Linked DNA regions of Homo sapiens: region 1 is linked to region 2. Evidence: promoter capture Hi-C in human tissues and cell types (Jung and others, 2019). All regions are on one chromosome and are shown on one strand. Each heading gives the region's core, a stretch centred on a gene start or on the middle of the fragment in contact. The rest is flanking DNA. Distances are from core to core; before and after follow the strand shown.

Evidence for each region. The method cuts DNA at HindIII sites, captures the fragments that hold promoters and counts their contacts. A contact is called where the count stands out against the background at its distance.
Region 1: a contact is called between a fragment that was not itself captured here and the fragment with the promoter of GPR148 in region 2, in 1 of the 25 tissues and cell types used here (thymus).

Annotation. Positions count from the first base shown.
Region 1 is chr2:130,868,966-130,874,372 of GRCh38, reverse strand. The region is part of intron 1 of ARHGEF4 (Rho guanine nucleotide exchange factor 4); the gene reads right to left. Among named protein-coding and RNA genes, the nearest start is that of ARHGEF4-AS1, 35 kb to the right of the region's middle. The HindIII fragment of the contact is 4,254 bases long and covers 776-5,029 here.
Region 2 is chr2:130,725,763-130,730,913 of GRCh38, reverse strand. GPR148 (G protein-coupled receptor 148) reads right to left here and starts at 1,844. Exons shown (of 1, transcript NM_207364.2): 1 at 578-1,844. The coding sequence starts at 1,762. The coding sequence ends at 719. RefSeq lists enhancers at 2,115-2,693, 2,694-3,273, 3,595-4,122 and a silencer at 3,042-3,211. The HindIII fragment of the contact is 13,856 bases long and covers 1-5,151 here.

The DNA of each region.
Region 1 (5,407 bases), core at 1,653-4,152, 140 kb before region 2:
GAATGACTTGGGAACAGAAGGCTCCTCAGCTCCCCACCAATGTGCTTCCACCAGGATTCCTGGGACCTGTTTTCCCAACACATGAGGAAGAAACAAGAGGATAAACTGTTGGTACAGCCGCCTTGTAGTTTGTCTACTGAAAAGGAGAAAGAACAGAATGCAACAGAACCACCAAACATCTGCAGGGACTGAGCCTCCGTTTTTGCTGATAGGGAGATCCCCCAGCGTGGGGTGAGTCGCTGGGGCAGAACAGTTGGTAAGCTGCTCGTAAAAAGGAGAGTTAAAAGCTACTTCTTTTAATTAGTGAAAGAAAAACCAGGGTTGAATTGAGGAATTGAGCTGCTGGGCCCAGGATGGCTAAGGCAGAGGCAGACAAAAACATCCACATCCCTCCTGAATCTGGAGAGCCAGCCAGTTTCAAAGCACCCAGGGCTTTCATCAACCCAGGAAAACGTTAGATGCAATCTATCCGGCAGGGGGCACCAAGGAACCCCAAACAGCTGTCACTTCCTGCAAAGCGGCCTGGATGAAATCAGATGGACCAGGGAACTTAGGGGTACCTGGAAATCCAAGACAGTATGGCCTGCACCAAACCCCACCCCTCCAAAGTGTTCATCACCCACCTAGCCCCAGGATCACTCGATCTGGCTTCTGAAAGGCAGCTTGGTATTCTAAAAAGAAGCCGCTAGCCACTAACTGGAATTAGACAGATGTCCTACTTAGTTCTGTCATTAGTTAGCTAAGTAAAAAGTGGGTCTTCTTTTCTTTTCCTTTTTTTTTTTTTTGAGATGGAGTTTCACTCCTGTCTCCCAGGCTGGAGTGCAATGGCGCAGTCTCGGCTCACTGCAACCTGCTTCCCAGGTTCAAGTGATTCTCCTGCCTCAGCCTCCCGAGTAGCTAGGATTACAGGTGCCCGCCACCATGCCCAGCTAATTTTTGTATTTTTAGTAGAGAAGAGGTTTCACCACGTTGGCCAGGCTGGTCTCGAACTCCTGATCTCAGGTGATCCACCCGCCTCGGCCTCCCAAAGTGCTAGGATTACAGGCGTGGCCACCGTGCCCGGCCTATTTTCTTCCTTCATAAGATGGGAGTAATGCTGATGACAGTATTTGTTGAACCTTTGCCACAGGCCAGCCTTATGACAACCATATGAGGTGTGCACTGTATCGCCATTTGACAGATAATGAAGACACAGCACAGACAGATCAAGTGGCTTTTCCCAGTCACACCAGCTAGGGAGTGGAGGGTTTGAATCCGGGCACTTTGGCTCCAGAGCCTGTGTGTGCCCATTCCCCTGGAGACTGGGGAAGGCAGCAAAAGAGCACGAGTGCCCACAGCCCTGCCTTGGCTGCCTGACTCAGAGGCTTGCTGCCTTGCAGCCTCTAAAGGTGTGCTCCACAGGCGAACACCCCAAGCCTCTGCATGCATGCCCCAGGTAGGCATGTGGATGGTGCAGGCATGTGTGTGCTGGGCCAGCTGCAGGCAGGGCTCAGGGCTGGCTCCACACAGGCAGGTGACCACGAGACCTGACCTCAGCCCCCAAAGTGCACCAAGGCCCCGTGAGGTGCTGCTGCTCCCAGCTGACACATACGGAGTTTGTGTCCTGGCCCATTCTTCTCCTCTGCTCCTTTGTATCGCCTCCCTTGCAACCCATAATCCCGAAACAACAGGGAAATTCTTCCCTCTGCTGAGGATCTGGCAGGAAAACAGTCTCCTTTCCAGTGACTTCTTTAGAAACCCCATTAAAAGACTTGCAGAAGTCAGACAAAAGAACTTGCCAGCAGTAAGATTTGCGATTGTACCCAGTGGTCACGGGGACGGGACACACAATTGGCGTGATTCAGCTCAAACGAGGAGGTGCGGAGGAGGGCTGGGGATGGCAGGAACCTAAGTCCCGGAAAGGGGCCTGGGCAGGGGGCCTGGGGGGACCCTGCTTTGGATAGAAGTACCTGGGGCTGCAGGAGCCACCAGGGCTGGGTTTCCCAAGACAGCCTCAATTTCAAACGTTCATCTGCCGTCAGTCGCATGCTCCTGGTGCCTTCTGGAGTCAGGGTAGGCTTTGCAACAGGGATCAGGATAGGGTCACGCCTGATGCTGGGCCCATGTCGCTCACACACCCTCTCTGCCAGCTCCCTGAAGCTTGAGCCCTGTGTTTTGATAACAAGCAGAGGAAGAGCTAATCCACTTTATCAACATGGCCAACTGCTAGAAATAGGCTTTAACTCATTTTTATAAGGCTAAGCCTATTTCCAGCAGAGGAAGGAGCTAACAGTTTATTCCCAGCTGGGCCGATTGCCTGCCCTGACCTGAACCGCGCTGCGGTGCTGCGAGGCCCTGTTGCTCCATTTTGCAGATGCACAGCTGGTGTTCTGCTAGGCTGAGTGCTCACCTGAGGCTCACAGCTGATAGGCATGTGCCAAGATCATCATGACGCTGGATAGGCTCCCACACCCACCCTGTTCCATGGATCTTTATTTGGGGGGAAGAATTAACCTCAAAACCAGGGAGATAAGGTCTCTCCATTTTTCCTTCTCCACTGGCAAGAGTTAAGAAAAAGTGCTTGATTTTTCATTAATGAGGGTTCAAAAGGTCTCCAGTGTAGGGGAGAGTGGACCTGAGTTTCCCAGGTTGCTGGCATGAAGCATCCCCTGAAATAGTGTCCACAGGATTTGGAAGACAACAAATGAAGGGATGAGTGATCAGATGATTTTGGAAATGCTATAAAGTTAGATTTTTTTTCCTAAAAATTTCTGAAAGCAGGTGTGTGTGTGTGTGTATGCATATATATATGTATGTATATATGTGTATATATATATGTATATATATATATTTTTTTGAGACGGAGTTTTGCTCTTGCCGCCCAGGCTGGAGTACAATGACTCGATCTTGGCTTACCGCAACCTCTGCCTCCCGGGTTCAAGCAATTCTCCTGCCTCAGTCTCCCGAGTAGCTGGGATCACAGGTGCCCACCACCAAGCCTGGCTAATTTTTGTATTTTTAGTAGAGACAAGGTTTCACCATGTTGGCCAGGCTAGTCTCGAACTTCTGACCTCAGGTGATCCGCCCACCTCGGCCTCCCAAAGTGCTGGGATTACAGGTGTGAGCCACTGCGCCCAGCCTCTTTGAAAGCCTTTGTATATTAATGAGCATTTTAAAGCTCTAGGTGTAGGAAGCTGAGGTTTAGAAAAATCCTTTATCCAGGCCATTGTGGGGTTGAGAGAGCTGACCTGTGCCCCAGCTCAGCAACCCACAGGCGGGGCCCCTTTATGCCCCCCAGAGGCTTTCATGGGTAAAGTGAAGTGACTGTTGGAGCTCGTCTCCCACTGACACCCATGACTGCAGATATGCTTCTAGGGAGCCCCTGAGCACACTCTGATGTTCACCACGGCTTACCTAGCACCAGCCACTTCCTCCGCAAACCTCAGTTCCTGGGCTGACAGCACTTAGATCTAGGAGAGCTGAGGAGGCAGGAGACCTGGAACACCTGCCCCACCCTACCCTGCACCTAGCCAAGAGTCAGCCAGCTTCGAGCTCCCCTGGGAAGCCTTCCCTGCTTTCCCTTCTCTGCCACCACCGCCAACCCCCATGTCTCGCTGGGTGACCGTCTGCTGCTTCCAGGTTACTCTGGCTCATCTTGACCATAGCCTTGTAAGAAATTAGATACCTGGCACATAAGGAGCACCCCCAAAGTGAGTTCCCTTCCCCTCCCCAGGGATGGAAGACCTTGGTTTCCACCCTGGCTTCATCCCTGACTGTTGGTAACTGGGGCAGTTGTTTCATTCTTTGACCCTCACTCACTTCAAGGTGCATGGTTCTGAGAAGGTCATATGAGATTGGGTGCAGGAAAATGAGGGCCGCACAAACACAAAGCCTCAAAGGGAAGGAACAGGGCTGAGGGCCCCTTCCTGCCCCCTCTCCTGGGCAGTGTCCTGGCAGCTAGGGACCCTGGAGGGCTCCCCTCAGCTGAGCCATCCCCAGCCCTGCCCCTGTACACTTCATGCCCATTCCTGCTTTTCCATCTCAGCATGCCCGTTGCTCCATCTGAAACACATCCCACTCGTGACATCCAGTCCTACCAAAGGGCCTACCCTGCTCCCGGGGGCTAGGTCCCATCTCGTCTGTTCAGCGTTGTCCTTGCCCCTTCAGCCTACCCTGGGCTGGGGAGGAGGTGCCACAAGAGGGAAAAGCAACAATACCCATGGAAGAAACAGTGGGCAGGCCTCCCACCCTCCAGCAGCGTCTTTCTCTGAGGCCCTGCAGGGGTTGACAGCAGAGGGCGAATATTGTTCTCAGTGGCAGGGAGACGTTCACACTGCCCCAAAACGCTGAGCCTCTTCAGCAGATGTACCCAGAAAGGCAAATAATGGAGCTTTTCAGCTGTTGCCAGAGCCAGCCTGAGAGCTCAGCGGGTCCCGCTGGCCACACCGGGTTCCACGGAGGGGGCCTTGTTCAGCACCCCATGTGTGCACACAGTGAGGGTCCAAGAAACAGCTCTGCTCCCAGTCTGAGCCTCTGGCCCCCAAGCTTAACACCGAAAACACAAAACCATTCTCCACCTTTTCCTTTCAGGGTTTCAGGTGGCCTCAGTAAGAGGCGGCCGTTCCCTAGCTGAGGGACGACTTGGTCTGAATGCGGATATGTCAGCTCCCCGCTCTGGCCGGGCTGCCCGTGACTGCTGCCTGGCATTCCCCTGCCTCACTAGCTTCCTTTCATACCCTCTCTTCTCTCTAACTGCAGAGGTCATTGTTCCCCAGCAGCTTCTACACTCCTTCGAATTCTAGACACAGTCCCTGAGTCATCTCGTGCCATCACAGATTCAAGCACTGCCTATGTGCTGGGCACAATCAAATAGCTACTGCCAGCTGCCTTCCCAGACTCAGGGGCCTCACTGCTCACCAAGATTCCCTGCTTATCTCAGGGGTAACTCCCTCTTCAGTCAGTGACACCACCAGTGACCCAGCTGATGAAGGCAGAGACCCGGAGCCCTGCGAGACTTCCTCCCTCACCCATTCCACATCTATCCGGCTCCAAGTTCTGTGGGTTACAGCTCCTGAGTGTTCTTTCCTATCCTCACACCACTGCCTCTGCTGTACCTTCCATCACCGGCACAGATTACTTCTCAGCTTCCCAACCACTCTGCAGGCCTCCACCCTTACTCCTCCTACTCTCTCTGTGGCCAGACAGATCTTTCTAAGCCTCAAATATGACAGCTGTATCACATCACTCCCTCCAATCAAAATCTGTGAAATGCCCTCTTGGTAGGCTGAGTAGGGACCCCCAAGATGTCTGTGTCCTAAGCCCAAGAACCTGTGACTGTTGCCTTTTAGGGCAAAAGGGATGGGGCTGAGGTAATGAAGTGCATGAGATGGGGAGATAACCCAGATTATCCAGGTGGTCCCGATATGAT
Region 2 (5,151 bases), core at 595-3,094:
AGAACCACACCAACCACAGACTGAGGTCTTTTTACCACTAACATAATTTGAAGCCTAGCTCTAAAACTGTCTGAAGAGTGGCTTCTACTTAAGAATTCTCGAGGAATTTTCTTCTTCTACACAGCACGAAAGTCAAGGCAGGCAAACTCCCTTGCTGACCCCTTCTGTAAGGTTAGGTTATCATTTACCTTTATTGTGAGAGTGTAACCCTTGCACACTCCAGCTTTATAGTGGTATCTCCATGACACTCTCCACTGCTGTGGATCGTTGGCTTCCTTTCCTCCCTCCCACATCCTGAGCGGCTGCTCAGATAGAGCTCATGGTCCCAGGACTCAGCAGCTCTGCTTGCTTACCTCTGTGGTTCTCACTGTCAGCAACATTTTGGCTTCTGTGTGTTGGTCAGCAAGGATGCATCCACAGTGGCCAGGGAGGGTGTGCAGCAAGCCATTGGAGGGACGCAGATCAAGGCTTGACTTAGACCAGAGCCCTGCTTGATTGCCTTTACTTGCTTCCGTTTCCAAGTAGGATTTCAGTGTCATAAGAGAGCTTTCTCTACTTAAAAACTGTCAAAATGGTGAAAATCATCAGTTGAGGTCTTCTGAAAGGCCCAATTCCACTATTATATTGTGCTGTTCTAAGAAGTTAGTCATAAGTGGACACTGCTGCATTCAACATATGATTTTTAACCTCAGCTTGCCAGACTGTGGACTCAAGAACTCTAGGAAATGGTAAAGATGGCCTGGTGCCTCCTGGATGGGAGGTGGCCCCGGACCATGCCCAACAGCTGCCGGTAGCGGAGCAGGTACAGGTATGTGAGCATGGCACGGGGAAGCATCATGAGTACCTCACTGTTAGCTGCCAGGAGCCATGTGTGAGTCCCAGAGTCAATGTGGTGGTACCTGGTCAGCACCATGTCCAGGGAGAACACCACCCCTGTGCTCACGTACAATGTGATCAGCACTGAGTGGATCAGCAGGGTGCCCCTGGCCCGGGAATAGCCCTGCCCCCAGATGCCTGAAGTCTTGGCCTCTGCATAGATCCTCCAGAAACAGTTGGCAATGAGAGCTGTGCAGAGGAACAGAACGCACAGAATGGAGGTGTAGGTAACAATGACCAGGAGGCCACATCCCGGCTGGGTGCCCATGCTTGGTGGTAGGATGTATGAAGCTCCTTGCTCCTCCAGCTGGGCATCCTGCCACTTGCTGAGCCAAATAAGGAATGTGGGGAAGCAGCAGGCCACCAGCCAGATGAGGGCCACTGCCTTCCAGGCAGCCCCATGGGACATGAAGGAGAGGTAGCGCAGTGGATGGATGACTGCCAGGTAGGTGTGCAGCACAATGGCGGTGAAGGACAGGATGGTGCTGGTGCAGGCGGCGAAGACAGCATCAGTGAGAATGCCACAGGCCATGCGGCCCAGCTCCCAGCCACCCAGGCTGCTGGAGGAGATGAGCATGTGGAGGAGAATGTAGGCCAGGTCTGAGAGCAGGATGTTAGCCGGGAGCAGGTAGTGGGGCTCCTGTCGCAGCCGTTGGTTCCGCAGGATGGTCACCAGCAGCAGGGGGCTGACAGCCAGTGTGGCTGCAGCCAGCAGGCTTGAGGGAAGGAAAAGCCAGTACAGCATGGAGCTGGGCACCCTGAGGTCCCCCAGGCCCAAGGAAGTGTTGCTGGCTGCTTGGGGCATGCAGGGTGTCTTGCTGATGAGCTGGATCAGGGCCGGCCAAGCTGTAGTGCCCACAGGGCAAGGTGCCAGCTCATCCCCCATGCTTCCTGGCAGGGATGGCTGGCTTTGTCACAGGTTGTTGATTCTGCACCTGCCTTGAGTGTTGATCTGCCCCACAGGGGTCCTGATGGCACCACTCCTCTGTAGAGATGCCAGGCTCGGGCAGGCCTTAGGAATGACTGCTTAATAAAGATAAAAAAACCAATGTGAATTCAGACTCACACCTGGCTTCCTGCATTCACATCTCTGCAACTGTGCAGCTGCATGTGCGTGGGTAGACATAACAGATCATCCCACTGCCACCATTTTGCAGTCACTGACCCCTCCAGAAGTGTCCCCTATCTCAGTGGCCCCCAAACCTGTCTGCTTGGCTCACAGGGAGTGTGCAATGGATTCTCACCACACTGGATTATATTCCGGGCTGCCCTCCTAGAAAGGAAGGAGCAGCTGTCTGGAACTAGGATCGCTGGGCTGTAGACCTGGTCTGACCTCTGTCGAGCTAGAGGCTCAGCAAATTGGACCAGGCTGGAGGGGCCTGGGCGCACTCACATTTCCTCACAGAGCCTTGGGTATGGTCTCCAGCTCAGGGTGACCCTGTGCATGCGTGTGAGTGTGACTCCTACACCCCTTCCACTCAGGGCTCCATGTGAGTATTCGGTGCCCCCAAAATCTCAGCTGACTTGTGGGGTCGCTGTGTGGTAGAAACGTCCCTTCCTCTGGGGAGGAGGAGGCCTGGCAGGCAGAGACCTCATAGGAGCTAGTGGGGAGGAATGGAAGGCAGGTTCCCCAGGCACCTGGCTTGTCGGGGGTGGGGTGAGCTCAGTCAGAGCCAGTGGCCAGGGTGGCTGTTGGTGTTTGGGGATCCAGTTCAAGTGAACAAGCTCTCCCGCTCTCTCGAGGTGTTGGCTGCGTGGCCTTGAAAAGCTTTGTTCCAGTTTCCTTATCTGTGAAACACGAATGCCAACCACACTGACCTCAGGGAAACGTTGCGGAAGCCCAGAGGTAAGGGACTCAGCACAGTGCATAGCCTGAAGTAAATGCTGAGTCAATGTTAGCTCTCCCACCTACAGCATCCTCCGAGGCTCGGTCCCCTCTGCCCACAGATCCCTGTCATCACTGCAGAACGGGCTGCACTTGGCTGCTGGCAGCCTGAGACCCCTGCCCAACACCCACCGCCGGCCTGGCAGACTGCTCCAGAAGGCAGGAGCCGCGTGGGAACAGGCAGGATATTTTTAGGGCCAGGAAGAGGCAGAAATTTCAGACTCTGGGTGTGAGACCACGTCCACTGCTGCCCAGGGACCATGCTCGTCACAGCCCGAGACCACGTCCACCGCAGCCCAGGGACCACGCCCAGAACCGCCCCTGACCACGTCCGCCGCAGCCCGGGGACCACGCCCGCCGCAGCCCGGGGCCACGCCCACCACAGCCCCGGACCACCATCATCGCAGCCCTGGGACCACGCCCTCCATAGCCCAAGGCCACGCCCATCACAGCCAAAGACCACGCCCAGAACAGCCCCGGACCACGCCCGCCGCAGCCCGGAACCGCGTCCTCCTCTGAGAGCCTGTTACGCAGCTGCCAGGAGCAGCAGCGCCTGCGCCTTTTTGGCCGATTACGGTACAGAAACTAAAGGTGGTTCTGAGAAAGCCCATCACCCCTTCCAGAGAAACCGCGATGCCATGGGGCGGACCCCGCCTCCCTGCCCCAGCTGCCCTGGCCTGCACTCCCTAGGGGCCCCTTGTACTTTACAGATGCTCTGACCGGTCTAATCGGCCCCAGGCCGGGAGAGGCAGCAGAGCCATTCGCAGGCCACGCTCTCTGCGCGGGTGCCCTGTGTGCTGCAGGGCTGAGGGCCAAGGCCGAGCCTCTCTCTGCTGTCCAGCCCAGCACAACGACCCTCGCCGGCCTTTGGGGTCTTAGAATGCAGATTCCCTGGGAGAGGGAAACTCGTTAAATGACAATCCCTCAGTAAAAATGTGGTTGTGAGCTAAATCCTTATAGCCGGTGACGGGGTGACAAGCAGCAACTTCATGGAATCGGAAAGCGCGAAACTCCCAAGGTGAAAAAGCCGCTGGGATGATACAGAGCCTGCCTCCTGCTGAGAATCATCTTAGGAATTAAATAGCCCATACAACAATCTCAGAGCACCGAGCGGGTGCTGCCCCTAAGGGAACATCAGTTTGGTCTCACTTGCCGAGGTTCCCTATCCAGGCTGCCCTCCTGGGAAAATGCAGTCCGGGGCCCTAGGGAGTGCAGCCCAGGGCGCGGGGACAGGGAGGCGGGGTCCGCCCTATGGCATCGCGGTTTCTCCGAAAGGGAAGATGGGCTTTCTCAGAACCACCCTTAGTTTCTACACTGTAATCAACCCCAGATGTGGGGTCACCCAGTGCCAGCTCTGGGGTCACAGAGCTGGCCTCCCTGGTTAGGACCCTGCAGCCTTTAACTCCTTTGCCCCGTTCCTGTAATCATTATGGGTCAGGACGGGCCTGCTGGCCTTGGGTGCAGACGCGGGGTGGGTGTGCAGCACAGGCTAGTGAATCTGAACATAACTTTGGAAGTTGAATCTCAGCCATCCGTGGCCCTTCAAGAGCCTGGGGATGCTGGAGTGTCCCTGCCCTCTAGGAAGGTGGAGGTAAACTGAGGCTGTAGGCGTGCCTAATGCAAACATGTTTAAACCACAGAATGGACATGCTCCTGGGTCCTCCGGCTGAGATGAGGTAACAGTGACCACCCACAGCCTCATCGTGGAGCACCTTCTGTGCAGGCACTGAGCACACTCACAGAAATGACATGCTGCTCTGTGGGAAACTGAAGCCCAGGGAGGTTAAGTGCCCTGCCTAAGGTCACCTTTTGAGAGAGTTCAGTGTTAGTAAGAAGCCATCTTTTGGCGGGGAGCGGTGGCTCACGCCTGTAATCCCAGCACTTTGCACTTTGGGAGGCCGAGACAGGCAGATCACCTGAGGTCAGGAGTTTGAAACCAGCCTGATCAACATGGAGAAACCCTGTCTCTACTAAAAATACAAAAATTAGCTGGGCGTGGTGGCACATGCCTGTAATCCCAGCTACTCAGGAGGCTGAGGCAGGAGAATCTCTTGAACCCAGGAGGCGAAGGTTGCAGTGAGCCAAGATCACACCATTGCACTCCAGTCTGGGCAAGAAGAGCAAAACTCCATAAAAAAAAAAAAAAAAAAAAAAAAAAAGCTCTCTTTCCTGAGACATGCAGACCCTGTTGCTATGGCCCCCAATGGTGGCAGCAGGACAGGAGTTACTCACCGTGGTGTCAGGTCAAGGCTCGGGGAGTCAGAGGGTGGGCAGTGGGCACTGGCAGAGGTGACTGAGACTCCCAGCTGGGCCTCCCATCACACAGCAGCTCCCAAAGGCAGCTGGCAGCCAGGTTGAAAAGGATTATCTAAACAGGGGTTCTTGGTTTC